Regions from separate parts of the Homo sapiens genome. Here region 2 is linked to region 1. Evidence: promoter capture Hi-C in human tissues and cell types (Jung and others, 2019). All regions are on one chromosome and are shown on one strand. Each heading gives the region's core, a stretch centred on a gene start or on the middle of the fragment in contact. The rest is flanking DNA. Distances are from core to core; before and after follow the strand shown. Region 1 holds the start of CDC27 (cell division cycle 27). Region 2 holds the start of TBKBP1 (TBK1 binding protein 1).

Evidence for each region. Contacts are between HindIII fragments. The study calls those that stand out against the background at their distance.
Region 2: a contact is called between the fragment with the promoter of TBKBP1 here and the fragment with the promoter of CDC27 in region 1, in 1 of the 25 tissues and cell types used here (dorsolateral prefrontal cortex).

What each region holds. Positions count from the first base shown.
Region 1 is chr17:47,184,892-47,192,491 of GRCh38, reverse strand. It overlaps CDC27 (cell division cycle 27), which reads left to right and starts at 3,197. Exons shown (of 19, transcript NM_001256.6): 1 at 3,197-3,346. The coding sequence starts at 3,320. It also overlaps a transcript of MYL4 not described here. RefSeq lists enhancers at 3,273-3,462, 2,993-3,589 and a silencer at 3,623-3,672. The HindIII fragment of the contact is 11,296 bases long and covers 1-7,425 here.
Region 2 is chr17:47,688,454-47,695,410 of GRCh38, reverse strand. It overlaps TBKBP1 (TBK1 binding protein 1), which reads right to left and starts at 1,250. Exons shown (of 10, transcript NM_001394755.1): 1 at 1,217-1,250. RefSeq lists enhancers at 1-134, 135-814, 815-1,495 and silencers at 592-651, 902-1,031. The HindIII fragment of the contact is 16,798 bases long and covers 1-6,957 here.

The DNA of each region.
Region 1 (7,600 bases), core at 1,948-4,447:
ATTTTTAGTAGAGATGGGGTTTCACTGTGTTAGCCAGGATGGTCTCGATCTCCTGACCTTGTGATCTGCCCGCCTTGGCCTCCTAAAGTGCTGGGATTACAGGCGTGAGCCAACGCGCCTGGCCTTTTTTTTTTTTTGAGACGGAGTTTTGCTCTTGTTGCCCAGGCTGGAGAACAATGGCGCAATCTCAGCTCACCGCAACCTCCACCTCCCAGGTTCAAGCGATTCTCCTGCCTCAGCCTCCCAAGTAGCTGGGATTACAGGCATGTGCCACCACGCCCAGCTAATTTGGTATTTTTAGTAGAGACAGGTTTTCTCCATGTTGGTCAGGCTGGTCTGGAACGCCTGACCTCAGGTGATCCGTCTGCATTGGCCTCCCAAAGTGTTGGGATTACAGGCGTGAGCCACCTCACCCAGCCAGGAAATGCTCTTTTTTAGGTTAAAAAAAGAAAAAAGGCTTTAGGCAAATTCTAAGCCTATAAGCCAGAGTGCCAAGCATCAGAGGCTCTTTAAATGCTGACTCTAGATCCATATTTTCACAAAGTATCATCTTTATGTATCCTCTGTGGTAAGGTCCTATATTTAGGTTTACAAAACTCTGCTGCACACATACAAGACTTGGGTTGGCAGCATGTTGTGTGAAAAAGAGCTGAGTCCGTAAATGACCACACAAGTTTAGCATGAGCAAACAGTGTCATGTGACTGCTAAAAAATGTAAATACAGGCTGGGCACAGTGGCTCACACCTGTAATCCCAGCACTTTGGGAGGCCGAGATGGGTGGATCATGAGATCAGGAGTTTGAGACCAGCCTGGCCAACATGGTGAAACCCCGTCTCTACTAAAAATACAAAAATTAACCGGGCGTGGTGGTGCGCACCTGCAATCCCAGCTACTCGGGACGTTGAGACAGGAGAATTGCTTGAACCCCGGAGGCGGAGGACGCAGTCAGCCGAGATTGCGCCATTACACTCCAGCTCTGGGCAACAGAGCAAGACTCAGTCTCGGAAAAAAAAAATGTAAATACAACTGTAGTCCACTTTAATAGACGTGTCCAGATAATAATAGTCCAACTGCATTCTGAATTATTCAGAATAAATCTGGAGTACTGTGTTCAGTTGAAAGGGTCACATTTTAAGAGTGATAGCTCTTACTTATCCCTTTCTTTCCATTCCCAATCTTAGATACTCTCATCTCATATCTAGCGTGGTAGATTGTTTCCAAAGATGACCCAAAAACTCCTCCCATGGCACACGCCCTTTGTGGTGTTACTTTGCCACTCTTCCCATTAAGAAGTAGACTATTCCTCCTGGTGAATCCAGGGTGGCTCTGAGTCTTACTCTGACCAACAAGAAGTGATGCTCACAGGCCTAGGCCTAAGGGACCTCACAGCTTCTATTTTTGCGCACTTTGTTGTCAACCACCAAGTCAAGAAGCTGGAGCTAAACTACTGACTCATAAGAGGCCAGTGTGAAAAGAGAGGTCATGCAGAGAAGAAATGAAGGACCCAGCCAATAGCTACCACTGACACCCTAGACATGTGAGTGAAGCCATCTTGAATCTTTCAGCCCTAGCCAAGCCAGTGCTGGTGATGTTCTTCTATATCTGTGTGACTGTCCAATATGGCAGTCACTAGCCACATACAGGGCTACTGAATCCTTGGAATGTGGCTAGGGCATCTGAAGAACTTCATTTTTAATTTCATTTTAACTTAAACTTTAAATAGCTAATGGCTACTTTCCAGGCCAGTGTAAAAGTCTGTTACCACTCAAGTCATCCAGCATAATCCCGCTAAAGCAACTGGGCACAGGGCAGCCAAAAATCATCTTAGCACCTGCCCTTTAGGGGCTATAAGTATATATACAGTGACAAGACAAGGCGGTGGAGAAGGATGCAGTGTAGCTCTGTCAGCCTTGTTTTTAAAAATGAAAGAAAAAATATCTCCCTCTAACATCACCCAAAGGGAAATTTCCAAGCAATGGAATATATCATGATTCTCACATCTAGCCTAGAGAGCTCCTGACTAGAAAAGTAACTTTCAAAAACTGTTTCCTCATCTGCTGAAAAACAAAATTTAAACAGTCCCCTGGTTCACTCTTTTTGGGGGGAGAAGGGGAGCAGAAAGGAAATATGAGAGAGTCTACATTGCATGCTAGACACGGCCACATTTATAATACATCGAATTCTCTTAATCCTTTTTTTTCAAACTAAGCGAACATAAGTTCAGAGAGGTAATTTGCCAAGGACCTATGACTAGTTAGTGCTAAAGATAAAATTCAAAACCAGGCCTCTGAATTTCCGACCCCCTACTCTTCCCACCACAGCGGAATGCCTCACCTATCAAAAATAAAAATTTCTAATGGCCTATTGAGCTTTTCCATGATCTCTTCACCTAAGTAACTATTTCCAATTAATGCCTTCTTAGCAGACTGATCCCATTTTTCCTCCCTTCACTTTCCTATACTTCTTTTTCCTCTAATTTTACCCATCCTTCAAACTCCATTTTAAACTTTTTTTTCCTTCCATAGAACTTTCCTTATCTTATCACAATTGCCCTCTCTGAATTTTTATATTACTTATAATAGGCACCATATAATATAGCGTTCTCTGTTACACTGCTTTTCCCTTAAATAGACCTTAATCTCCTTGAAGACAGAAGCTATCCTATGTCTTTGGGGAGTGGCAATCTTTCCAAATTTCTTTAGCTTTCCCCCAGAGCCGTGAGTAGATACTTCTGGAATGGACGAATGATCTAAACTCAATAGACAAATACTTGTTGATTCATTAAAGACAGCCCCAAACTCTGCTGTTTCACCCTTTGCTTCATAATCTACAGCACACCAATTAATCCAAAAGGGCTGAGGGGCTAATCCACACTGCAGCCCCGCCACGTAACGCTACCCGCCCGCGCTGTCACGCCACGCCCAGCCTGCTGGTTGCAGATTTGGCGTAGCCCAACCCTGGGACGGCCGATTGGGCGTGGTGTGCGTGGCTGAAGGCGTGGCTGAGAAGAGAAACCTACGCTTTGGGTCAGACTCGGTAGCTTCCGGTAATCTTCGACAATTTCCGGCAACGGTTTTCTCTCTCGTCGACCAACCTCGGGTATTTCCGACTCCCTTCGGGCTTTTCCGTCTGGTTCCCGCTCGGCTTTCTCCACTTCGGGTATTCCCGTGTCCCGCTCGGAAGCACTCGGCAATCGCTCGGCCTCCCCCATCCCCCGGTAACGGTCGCTGGTGAGTTTAAATGAGCAGGGGCTGGCCGGGCCGGAGCCGCTACAGGGGGGGCCTGAGGCACTGCAGAAAGTGGGCCTGAGCCTCGAGGATGACGGTGCTGCAGGAACCCGTCCAGGTAATGATAACCTTCTTCTCTGGGGCTTGGCTGGCAGCCTCGGTCGGGAAGCAGCAGCGTAGGGCCACTCCGCGGCCTGGTGCGGCCTAGGCCCGGCTGCTTCTCCCGCCTCCCCTGCTGCCGTGTCCTGCCTATCTTTAGTCAGTTCGGAGGCCTTGCCCACAGCCTAAGCCGTGTTACCTCTGGCCCTACATTACTTCACCCTTAGCGTGAGCGGCTTCGGCGAAAATAACCGCCTTTCCCGTCCGAGCCAACGTCCGGCCAGCCTTTCCTGTCAGTCCAGGGGCCTGGCTTGACTGGGGGTGGGAGATGAGGGGCCGAAAATGCACCCCAAGCGCTCTCTTGCCTAAAAGATGATCGAGAAGCACATTTGATCGGAGCTTGTGTGATCTTCGTGACGGTAGGGCAAGTTTACGGAGGTTTTTTTTATTTTGTCTTGTATGAGAGGGTGGAGGGAGCGTAGGATCGGTCTTTTTAATACTAATTTCTATTTTGGTAACAGACTTCCTATCCCACGTTTCCTTTCTCGGTGAATTTCCCACCGGACAATGATGGTTTGAGAAGACAACTCCAAGCCTCAGTGCTGAGGCGCAAGCACCAATACCAGGGGAGGAGGTGGAAAGGGCACATTTGGGTTGTTTTCATCCTCTCTGATGGGGATCAGGAGCATTTTGTTGTGCATGTTTATAAGGCATTCAGGAAATGAAACACAAATAATGGTGTTTCTGTCCATTTCACTGCCTTTACACCAGGGTATGCTTTGACGCACAGTGCTGTGTTGCATTAAAGGAACCCTATTGGATTTTAAGTGTGTGATGCGGTGCCAAGTCATTTTCCCCCCTGACATCTGGAGAAACTGTATCTTTTGTGCCTTGGTAATGGACCAGGTCTGGGAGACTTCATCCCACTATATGATCTTTAACTTGATCAGAATTGACCTCTATCAACTGCTGTCATTGAGTCATGGACTTTATTTTGAAGTTATAAAGCAAACTGATTTTTAGAAATTCCTTCATATTGCCCTTAAAAGGCTTGAGGTATCAAACAGTAAATATTTTAATATATCACTACTTTCATATTTATTTCATTTTTCTAAACAGCATGAAATACTCATTTCTTCTAGTTTGGTTTTTTTCTCCAGCTGTTTACATATAGCAGCTATTAGTGTTTGAATTAATAAAACGTAAGATTATATCTTATGAAATTTACCTGTCTGTAAGTTGTATTAGTTTTTCTAGAGCTATTTCCATCCAAATTCTTTTTACCAGTATAGTTTCTTTTAAGATTTTTTTTTATTCTGGCTGTAGATGAGGTAATTATATATATATAATTTTTTAAGGCCTAACATGAACTTAAATAGATAAGCAGATTACTCAAGTTATTTAATTTCTGTTGCATATTCTTATAATTTTGTTTTAATAGTTAATGATTTTTTTTTTTTTGCCTTCTCTGGCCCCAGAAGTCTTCTAAAGTGATAAACTAGTTGCATTGATAGACTATAACCACCATTTAATAATAATTTCAGACTTTATAAAAGCATGGAAGGCCGGGCGTGGTGGCTTACACCTGAAATCCCAGCACTTTGGGAGGCTGAGGCGGGTGGATCACCTGAGGTCAGGAGTTCGAGACCTGCCTGGCCAACACAGTGAAACCCTGTCTCTACTAAAAATATAAAAAATTAGCCAGGCGTGGTGGTGGGCGCCTGTAATCCCAGCTACTTGGGAGGCTGAGGCAGGAGAATTGCCTGAACCCAGGAGATGGAGTTTGCAGTGAGCCGACATGGTCCCGCTGCACTCCAGCCTGGGCGACAGAGTGAGACTCCATCTCAAAATAAATAAATAAATAAAAAATAAAAGCATGGAAAAGAAAAGGAATATGTAGCCTGTTTCTAGATAGTACCCATCAGGTTTCCTGTTTGTCCTTAAAGTACTCTGAGCAGTAATACACTTTGATATTTTTAAGGCTTAAATGTCAAATTTGCTTCTTTTTCATAGCAGCATTGTCCATTAGATTTTTGAGATAGTGGTAGAAAGTTTTAGGATATGACTAGGTGAAAATTTTGGTTGTATAGTATAAGAAGCCATTCAAGAATGGATTTGGAACAGTGAGAAGAACAAGCAACTTTGGCTACAATGATAAAGATCAATGATCAGGGATAGTGCTGCAAATGGGAAAGAATTAGGAAGAGAATAAAAATAGGACAGATATATAAGATACTGTCTTTATTAAAAAAAAAACTATGATGACAGATTGCGTGTATTTGGAAAGCAATGAGAGTAAGTTGGAAAATTGTTCTTTCTTGGAATGCCTCAGAGTTGATGGTATTACTAGGCATAGGAAAAAGTTCACAGAAAATATGAAGAACTGTTTTCTGCATTTTTTTTTCTTTAAAGTTTTAATGTAGAATGGCCAGTCCGATATACCATATATGCCTAAATTAAAACTCCGTCTCAAATTACTACCTCTCAGAAGAGTATTACTTTATATTTGAGTCCTTACAAAAGTCTCACATATGAGGCAGAATTTCTGTCAGTTCTTTTATTTTTAATGGTAACTATTTGGAAAGACACACTAGCCTAAGTGACTTCAGTGAGAGCTTTTTGAATATTTATAAAAGTCACCTGGTGAAATTGGTTTTTAAAAAAGAAGCAAAGAGATTTTATATAGATTTAGCAATTATTCCTAGGGGTAAGACTTCACAGAAGTGTTGGATGAAGTTGTAAATAAGCCTTTCGAAAATTAATTTAATAAGCAATATAGCAATTGGGTACTATATACATGATACTGTTTTAGAGATCATTAGATGGTGAAGGAGTACTCTTGGCTGGGGATAAAATGTTCAGGGACAGCATCTAACATGGATTCAAAGAGTAACATATTTTGGCTACTCAATGAGAAATTTAGATTTAATGTGCATTGGTAATGAATAACCATTATATGAGCAGAAGAGTTTTTGAGCAGAGGAATTATGTAATAAAAGCACCACTTTGGGAATATTTATCTGGTGCTGTTGGAAAGGGAGGAAGAGACAAGAGTTAGACATACAGACTAGTAGAATAATCCAACTGCATGATCATGTAGACCAGGGCTGCTTAATCTGAGCACTATTGACATTTGGGGCAAGCTAATACTTTGTTGGAAGCTGTGCATTGTAGAATGTTTTGTAGCATCCCTGGCTTCTAACCACTGGATGACCCCTCCATTTGTGACAACCAAAAATACCCTCTAGACATTGCTAAATGTTGGGGCATTAATTGGGAGTAAGAAGGCAAAATTGCCCAGAGTAAGAACCACTGACGTGCATCTAAACTAAATCAGTATCCTAGAAATTCAATTATAATGTATAATATGAAATTTCAACAGTGATTTTTTTCTTTGTATCTTCTTACATTGTCTGAAGCCTTTATTATCCATTTATTTTATGGTTTTTAAAAAAGGGCAGCTGACTGGGCACAGTGGCTCACGCTTGTAATCCCAGCACTTTCAGAGGCTGAGGCAGACAGATCACTTGAGCCAAGGAGTTCAAGACCAACAAATAAAATAAAATAAAGACAGCTTTTTTGACAAAAACAAGAACACAAAATGTATAAAAAATTTAACAAAAACAAGTAAACAAATTTTTTGTAATAAGCTTTCTCTAACAAAAAATTTATAATGATTACAGGCCGGGCGCGGTGCCTCACGCCTGTAATCCCAGCACTTTGGGGGGCTGAGGCAGGCGGATCACGAGGTCAGGAGATCGAGACCATCCTGGCCAACAGGGTGAAACCATTCCTTCTCTACTAAAAATACAAAAAAAATTAGCCGGGCATGGTGGCAGGCACCTGTAGTCCCAGCTACTCAGGAGGCTGAGGCAGGAGAATGGCGTGAACCCAGGAGGTGGAGCTTGCAGTGAGCCGAGATCGCGCCACTGCACTCCAGCCTGGGTGACAGAGTGAGACTCTGTCTCAAAAAAAAAGAGAAAAATTTATAGTGATTACATTTAAGTCTAAGTACAACTTATAGAGGTTTGTTTATATTTTAAATAATATTTTATATTTAAGAATAGCTAGCTGGTAAGGAATTTTGCAACTTTAAGCTGTTGGTTTATTTATCTTTTAAATTAGTGCACCTGGGGACTAACCCATTAATCAGTCAGATTTCTCTTAAACATTTTTTAGGGGAGAGGGAGAGGAGCGTTGTTCTTTTTGGCTTCATAACTTTCTTTTAGCAGCATTTCGTTCATCTGGCTTTAATTTGTAGAACTCTAGCGGT
Region 2 (6,957 bases), core at 1-2,500, 500 kb before region 1:
CCAGGTGGAAGGGGACGCGAACGAATTCCCAAGGCTGTCTCAGGGTGCCCGCGCACCGGGAAATGGGGAACCCTACGAGGGGGCAGGAATGACTCAGGCTCCCGAAAGCAGGAGTAGGCAGTGAGGGGGTGCGTGTGTACTTCTCTCGGGCCTGGTTATGAATGTGTGTCTGGGGTTGGCGTATGGGGGGAGTGTGCGTCTGTGAATGAGTGTAGGTGTGTCAGTCAATGAGTGCCTTCGGGGTCGCAGGGGCGTCGGGACGGAGTGGGGCAGCGACCAGGAGGCTGGTGTGTGCACGCGTGCGTGAGCGCGTGGGCAGGGTGGCACGTCCGGGCCGCGTGTCACGTGAGACGCGAGGGGACTGTCCGAGGTGTGTGCGCGCGCTGGAGCGTTATGTGCACCCCGGAGAGGGGGCTCGGCAGGGAGCTGTGAGTTCAGACAGCGGGGCCCCCAGGTCGGGCTGCAGGAGCTTGGGGTGCAAAGGGCTCCGGCGCAGGCTCCAATTCAATCCACCCCCCCCCCTCCGCCACCCACAGGCCCATCTAAGTGCCAGGGAAACGCGAGTGACTGGGTCTGAGTAAGGAGTGTGTGCGCGCGTTTGTAGGGCCGGCCCCACCTTTAACCCTCTCCTTCCCACGCCATCCCCTCCCCCCAGCTCCGCGCGCCAGCGCTTACCACACCCCCCCAGACCCCCGCCCGCCCCTCTGCGCCCACCCCGCTGGCGGGGCTCTGTCCCCGAGGCCGCACCACAAATGCCTCCTTCCTCCGCATTCCTCTCTGGGCCCAGCGCCCGGGTGAGCGCAATGGAAGGCGGCTGGGGAAGGGGTGAGTGCCTCTGTCGGCCCGGGCCCCTCCTGCGGCCCCTTTAAGAGCCGCCCTTTAAACCCCTTTCGCTCGGCCGACAGAAATTGTCGCCCCTCCCCTCTCGGGGGCCGAGACCACGCAGCCCCCTCCCCCACAACCGGCCGAGCCCTGGGCCCCCGGACACCCTCTCGGGGCCGGGGAAGGGGCTCCGGGAGTGGCGCGGCCTGAGGAACGGCGGCGGAGGGGGACGCGAGGGGATGAGGGCGGCCGACACCGGACCCCTTCCCTCCCAGCCATCCCGTGCGGCTGCCAGCCGCCCTCCTGCCGCCTCCTCCTGCCCACCCCGCGACCCCTGGGGCCCAGCCCGGGCGCCGCTCCCCTCCCCCAGCCCTAGCCCCAGCCGGGGACTCACAGCTGCTGCCGGTTCCTGCTTGTAATCGCAGCTTACCCCCTCCGCCTGCTCCCTCCCCAAACGGGCACCAGTGCCCCCACCCCCCTGGTACCGCGCTCTGCTCCTCGCCCTGTCGCCGCCGCCGGGTCTCTCCCCACCCCCCACCCCTCCCCCCAACCCCCTCCCTCCCGTCCGCCCCGCTCCTCCTCCGCCGCCGCCGCCTCCTCCGCCTCCTCCTCCCCGGCTGCTCCGGGTTTCTCCAGCTGGGAAGGCGCCCCGGACCCCGCCGCTGCCACCACCACGTGGCGAGAGGCGGCGGCCCCTACGGTGCGGCCCTTCCTGGCAGCGCGCCCGGAGCCCACCGGCTCCCTGCGGCGCCAGCGGCCCGCGCTGGCGCCCCCTCCCCGACGCCTCCCGGCGCAGTGTGGCGTGGTGGCGTGTGTTGGGGGCGTCTGCGGTCAGTGCAGGGGCCCGGCTGATGCTTTGGTTGTTTTGGTTGTTTAGTTATGGGCTGTATATTTGGGGAGGAAGTGGGGCTATTTATCTGGCTTTTTTTTTTTTTTTTTGGTCTTTGCGCTTTTGAGAAGGAAATCATTAGACCTGCTCTTCGTTGCTCTTGGTAAAAGGGGCATTGCTGCGATAAATACATTGAACATAGGGTACAGAGAGATTAAAGCTGTAACTTCTTTGGAAGTGAGAGTAAACTAAGGAGGTCAAAGATTCATTCATGAAGAAGGACAGCCATCTCCCTCCCCACACACCACTCCCCGGCCACCCTCAAGTACCCACAGGTCAGGGAAATGAAGAAACAACAGATGTCACCCTGTGCACAAAGATTATTTGAGCACCTGCCAAACTGCTGGGCAAGAGAAACAAGTTTTTTGCTACTTTCCTGCTGTGTGACCTTGGGCAAGTTACCTTAACCTTTCTAAGCTGGAGATCATGCCCCACCTAAGCACTCTCATGGAGGAAGAATGGGGATCAGAACTAAATACAGCAGCCTGCGAATGCTCAGGAAGTGTTAACGATGTCATTTTGAGTATTGCCTGGTGGATTAAATAATGTGGACAGAGGCATGGTCAGCCTAGCTGCAGGTAGAGAATGATCAGGGGAACCCTGGAGCACTCTGGCTGAAGAGCATCCTCTGTGGACAGGGAGGCAAAGCCCGGAAGCAGGGGATAAGCTGGGCGGGGGCTTTTGGCAGATTCAGCCTTAGCTGCGAAGACTGCTGGGAACCTGAGCCTACCTTTTTGGCTCCTGAGGTGGGATGGGGGTGGGAATCTCCGAGGGGGAGGATGGAAGGAAAAGGTTTCTTGCTCTCTCTGAGCTTTGAAAAGCAGCAGCTGCCATCTTTCCTCACTGCTGGGAGAAAATTGGACTGAGAGGTGAGCTTCTACCAGGAGAGCCAGCCAGAGCTCTAGACTCATTCTCTTCATAGAAGGGGGGATTCTCAGTGGCTTCCTTCCTCCTCCTCCTGCTGGGTTCCCTTTCAGTCTTTCCTGCCAGCACTGGCTCCCGTTTGTAGTCCAGAACAGGAAGGCAGGTCAGCCACTTGTTCTCTGAGGCACTAGCTTTCTCTGAACCATGTGGGATGACCTATCTACCCTCTAGATATGAAGGCAAACCAGTGGGGACATCTGTCACCCCACTAATCCCAAGGGCTAGGCAGATGTTCCTTTCCCTAGTACTCCCCAAGATCTCTTCTGAAGCAAGGGACCAGGCAAAAGATTGGAGGCTAGACTAGGAGGTGTAGGGTTGTCTCTGGGACCCTCGGTGACCTTGGACTTGGCCACAAACAGGACCCATAAGACCAACTGGCAAGCCCTCCCTCACTGGAAAAAGGGGTCCCAGGACCCTCTAAGCACACACTGTCTGGGATGAGTCATCAGCCCCCTGCTGCTGCTTGGATGCTCAGGGCCTAATTGAGTCACCTGGCAGGGTGCAGCCAAATGCTTCTATCCTTGGTTCTAGGTGGTTGGTGGCAAAAGTCCATTAGGCCTGGTTTAGGTGCCCTAAAATCCTCCCCCTCCCCCAATCTGGACCTGATCTCATTGCATTCTCCATTTCTAGTTCTGCTGCTCATACCAGGCAGTTCTGAGAGCAGAGATTATATCCCATCCATCCTTGTATTCTAAGGTGCCCTGAGGGTTGGTACCTGCTCGTTGTATATTTATTCGGCAAAGATTTCTTGAACATCTATTATGTGCTGGGTGCTGAGAATACAGTGCTGAACATGTCTCTGACAGGTATACATGTCTCTTGCTCTCTTAGAGCTTGCAGTATGGTAGAGAAGTCAGAAAAATAAAAAGATGAATAAGTAAAACCACTAGAAATTGTGATAAAGGACCAGGCACAGTGGCTCATGCCTGTAATCCCAGCACTTTGTGGGGCTGAGGCAGGCAGATCACCTGAGGTCAGGACTTTGAGACCAGCCTGACCAACATGGTGAAACCCGTCTCTACTAAACATGCAAAAATTAGCCAGGCATGACGGTGGGTCCCTGTAATCCCAGCTACTCGGGAGGCTGAGGCAGAAGAATTGCTTGAACCCAGGAGGTAGAGGTTGCAGTGAACCGAGGTGACCCCATTGCACTCCAGCCTGGGTGACAAGAGCGAAACTCCGTCTCAAAAAAAAGAAAGAAGGAAAGAAGGAAGGAAGGAAATTGTGATAAAGGATAAAAAGAAACACCAAGGGGCAGTACTAGAGAAGAATGGGAGGATGGGATCTGCTTCACAGTATTCAGAGAAGGTCTCCTTGATGAGCTCTTACAATTTTTTTTTTTTAAAAGACAGGGTCTTTCTCTGGCGCCCAGGCTGGAGTGCAGTGGTGCAATTTTGGCTCACTGCAGCTTCGCCCTCCTGGGCTAAGGTGATCCTCCCACCTCAGTCTCCAGGCGTGGTGGCTTGCGCCTCAGCTGGGACTACAGGCGTATGCCACACGCCCGGCTAATTTTTGTATTTTTTGTAGAGACAAGGTTTCACCATGTAGCCCAGGCTGCTCTCAAAATCCTGGGTTCAAGCCATCCACCTGCCTCGGCCTCCCAAAGTGCTGTGATTACAGGCATGAGCCACCGCACCTGGCTAAGCTAAATCTTAAAAGAGTAAGAAAGTATGTTCTTTGTTGAATGAATAAATAAATGAGGCAGTGTGACTTAAGACTACTTCACTTTTCTAGGCCTGTTTCCTCATCTGAGAAAGCTGAACATTGGTCTGAATACCCTTTTTATTTTTATTTTTATTTTTTTATGAGACGGAGTCTCGCTCTGTCACCCAGGCTGGAGTGCAGTGGCGTGGTCTCCGCTCACTGCAAGCTCCGCCTCCCAGGTTCATGCCATTCTCCTGCCTCAGCCTCCTGAGTAGCTGGAACTACAGGCGCCCGCCACCACGCCCAGCTAATTTTTTGTATTTTTAGTAGAGATGGGGTCTCGATCTCCTGACCTCGTGATCCGCCTGCCTCGGCATTCCAAAGTGCTGGGATTACAGGCGTGAGACACCATGCCCAGCTGGTCTGAATCCCTTTTAAGAGCCCCTGGTATTGGCAGGGCTCATCATGGTGGAGACAATAATAGGGGAGATGGTGAAGGGGATAGGAGCCACAGTGGGAGGACAGTGGGGAAAGTGGTGGACAGTGGTCAGGCATGAGTTGTAAAACATTTCTAAATGGCCTTCACAGGTGTGATAACAGAGGACCCACCTCCAATCGTTAAGGTAGGAGAGACAGTGCAAATGCAGGCCCCCAGAGCCAGGCCCTGCCAGTGTTTCCTCCTTGGAAACCACCAGGGAGACTCTCCCACTCCCATGACTCTTGCTCTGGAGGCTGTCTTTCCTGTCCCATTATTGCCTGAAAAGAGTAGGAGGAGGTGACATTAGCAGCCAGTTAAAGAGGCTGAATCAAAATAAAACCCAGATGACTCAAATGGAACCCTGGCGGGCAGGAAAATTGATTAGCCCCATGTGACTGCAGGATCTAGGTGCCACCTTCGCCCTCCAGTTCCAGACCCTAGAAAGTGGGCCATTCACCATGCAAGCATCCTGGGACTCCAACTGCAGCTGCAGGTGTTCCATCAGATGGGAGGGTAGGGCAGTGGTAGAAAGACATTCCTTCACCACGTCCCCAAATTCCTGTGGAGGTAATGCAGAGCCCCTAATTGAATTAGTAGGGTTTGGGAAGGAATAGAGTGGTTTTTTTTTTTTTTTTTTTTGAGACGGAGTTTCACTCTTGTTGCCCTGGCTGGAGTGCAATGGCACCATCGCGGCTCACCGCAGCCTCCACCTCCCGGGTTCAAGCAATTCTCCTGCCTCAGTCTCCCGAGTAGCTGGGATTACAGGCATGTGCCACCATGCCTGGCTAATTTTGTATTTTTAGTAGAGATGGGGTTTCTCCATGTTGGTCAGGCTGGTCTCAAACTCCCAACCTCAGGTGATCCCCCACCTCAGCCTCCCAAAGTGCTGGGATTACAGGCATGAGCCACCACGCCCAGATGTTTTTTGTTTTTTATAATTCCATATGTGCTTCATTTTTCTCCACAGCCATGTTCATTTCTGCTATCTCCCAAACAGAATTTTTAAAAGGTTATATTGAGGTCAGGCGCGGTGGCTTACGCCTGTAATCCCAGCACTTTGGGAGGCCGAAGCGGGTGGATCACAAGGTCAGGAGATCGAAACCATCCTGGCTAACACGGTGAAACCCCGTCTCTACTAAAAATACAAAAAATTACCCGGGCGTGGTGGCGGGCGCCTGTAGTCCCAGCTACTCAGGAGGCTGAGGCAGGAGAATGGCGTGAACCCGGGAGGCGGAGCTTGCAGTGAGCCGAGATCGCGCCACTGCACTCCAGCCTGGGTGACAGAGCAAGACTCCGTCTCAAAAAAAAAAAAAAAAAAGTTATATTGAATTATTGAATATTGATTATTTATCCATCAGAATGTGAGCTCCACAGGAAGATTTTGTTTGCTTATTCACTGCTATATCCCCAGTGTCTCCTGGCACGTAAACAGTTGTTTGGTAAGTGCAGTAGCGCAATCACATCTCACTGCAGACTTGATCGCCTGGGCCCAAGTGATCCTCCTGCCTCATCCTCCCACCACACCTGGCTAATGTGTTTTTTTGTTTTTGTTTTTGAGATGGAGTTTCGCTCTTGTCGTCCAGGCTGGAGTACAATGGCGCGATCTCAGCTCACCGCAACCTCCACCTCCCAGGTTCAAGTGATTCTCCTGCCTTGGCCTCCTGAGTAGCTGGGATTGTAGGCATGTGCCATCACGCCCAGCTAATTTTGTATTTTTAGTTGAGACGGGGTTTCACCATGTTGGTCAGGCTGGTCTTGAACTCCTGACCTCAGGTGATCCGCCTGCCTCGGCCTCCCAAAGTGATGGGATTACAGGCGTGAGCCACTGCGCCCAGCCTGTTTTTTGTTTTTGTTTTTGTTTTTGTTTTGTGAGACAGAGTCTTGCTTTGTTGCCCGGGCTGGAGTGCAGTGGCGCGATCTCAGCTCAATGCAACCTCCGCCTCCCAGGTTCAAGCGATTTTTCTGCCTCAGCCTCCTGAGTAGCTGGGACTACAGGCATGCACCACCATGCCCAGCTAATTTTTGTATTAGTAGTAGAGATGGGGTTTCACCATGTTGACCAGGCTGGTCTCAAACTCCTGACCTCAGGTGATCCGCCTGCCTCAGCCTCCCAAAGTGCTGGGATTACAGGCGTGAGCCACCACGCCCAGCCTAATGTTTTTTATTATTTGTAGAGACAAGGTCTTGCTATGTTGCCCAG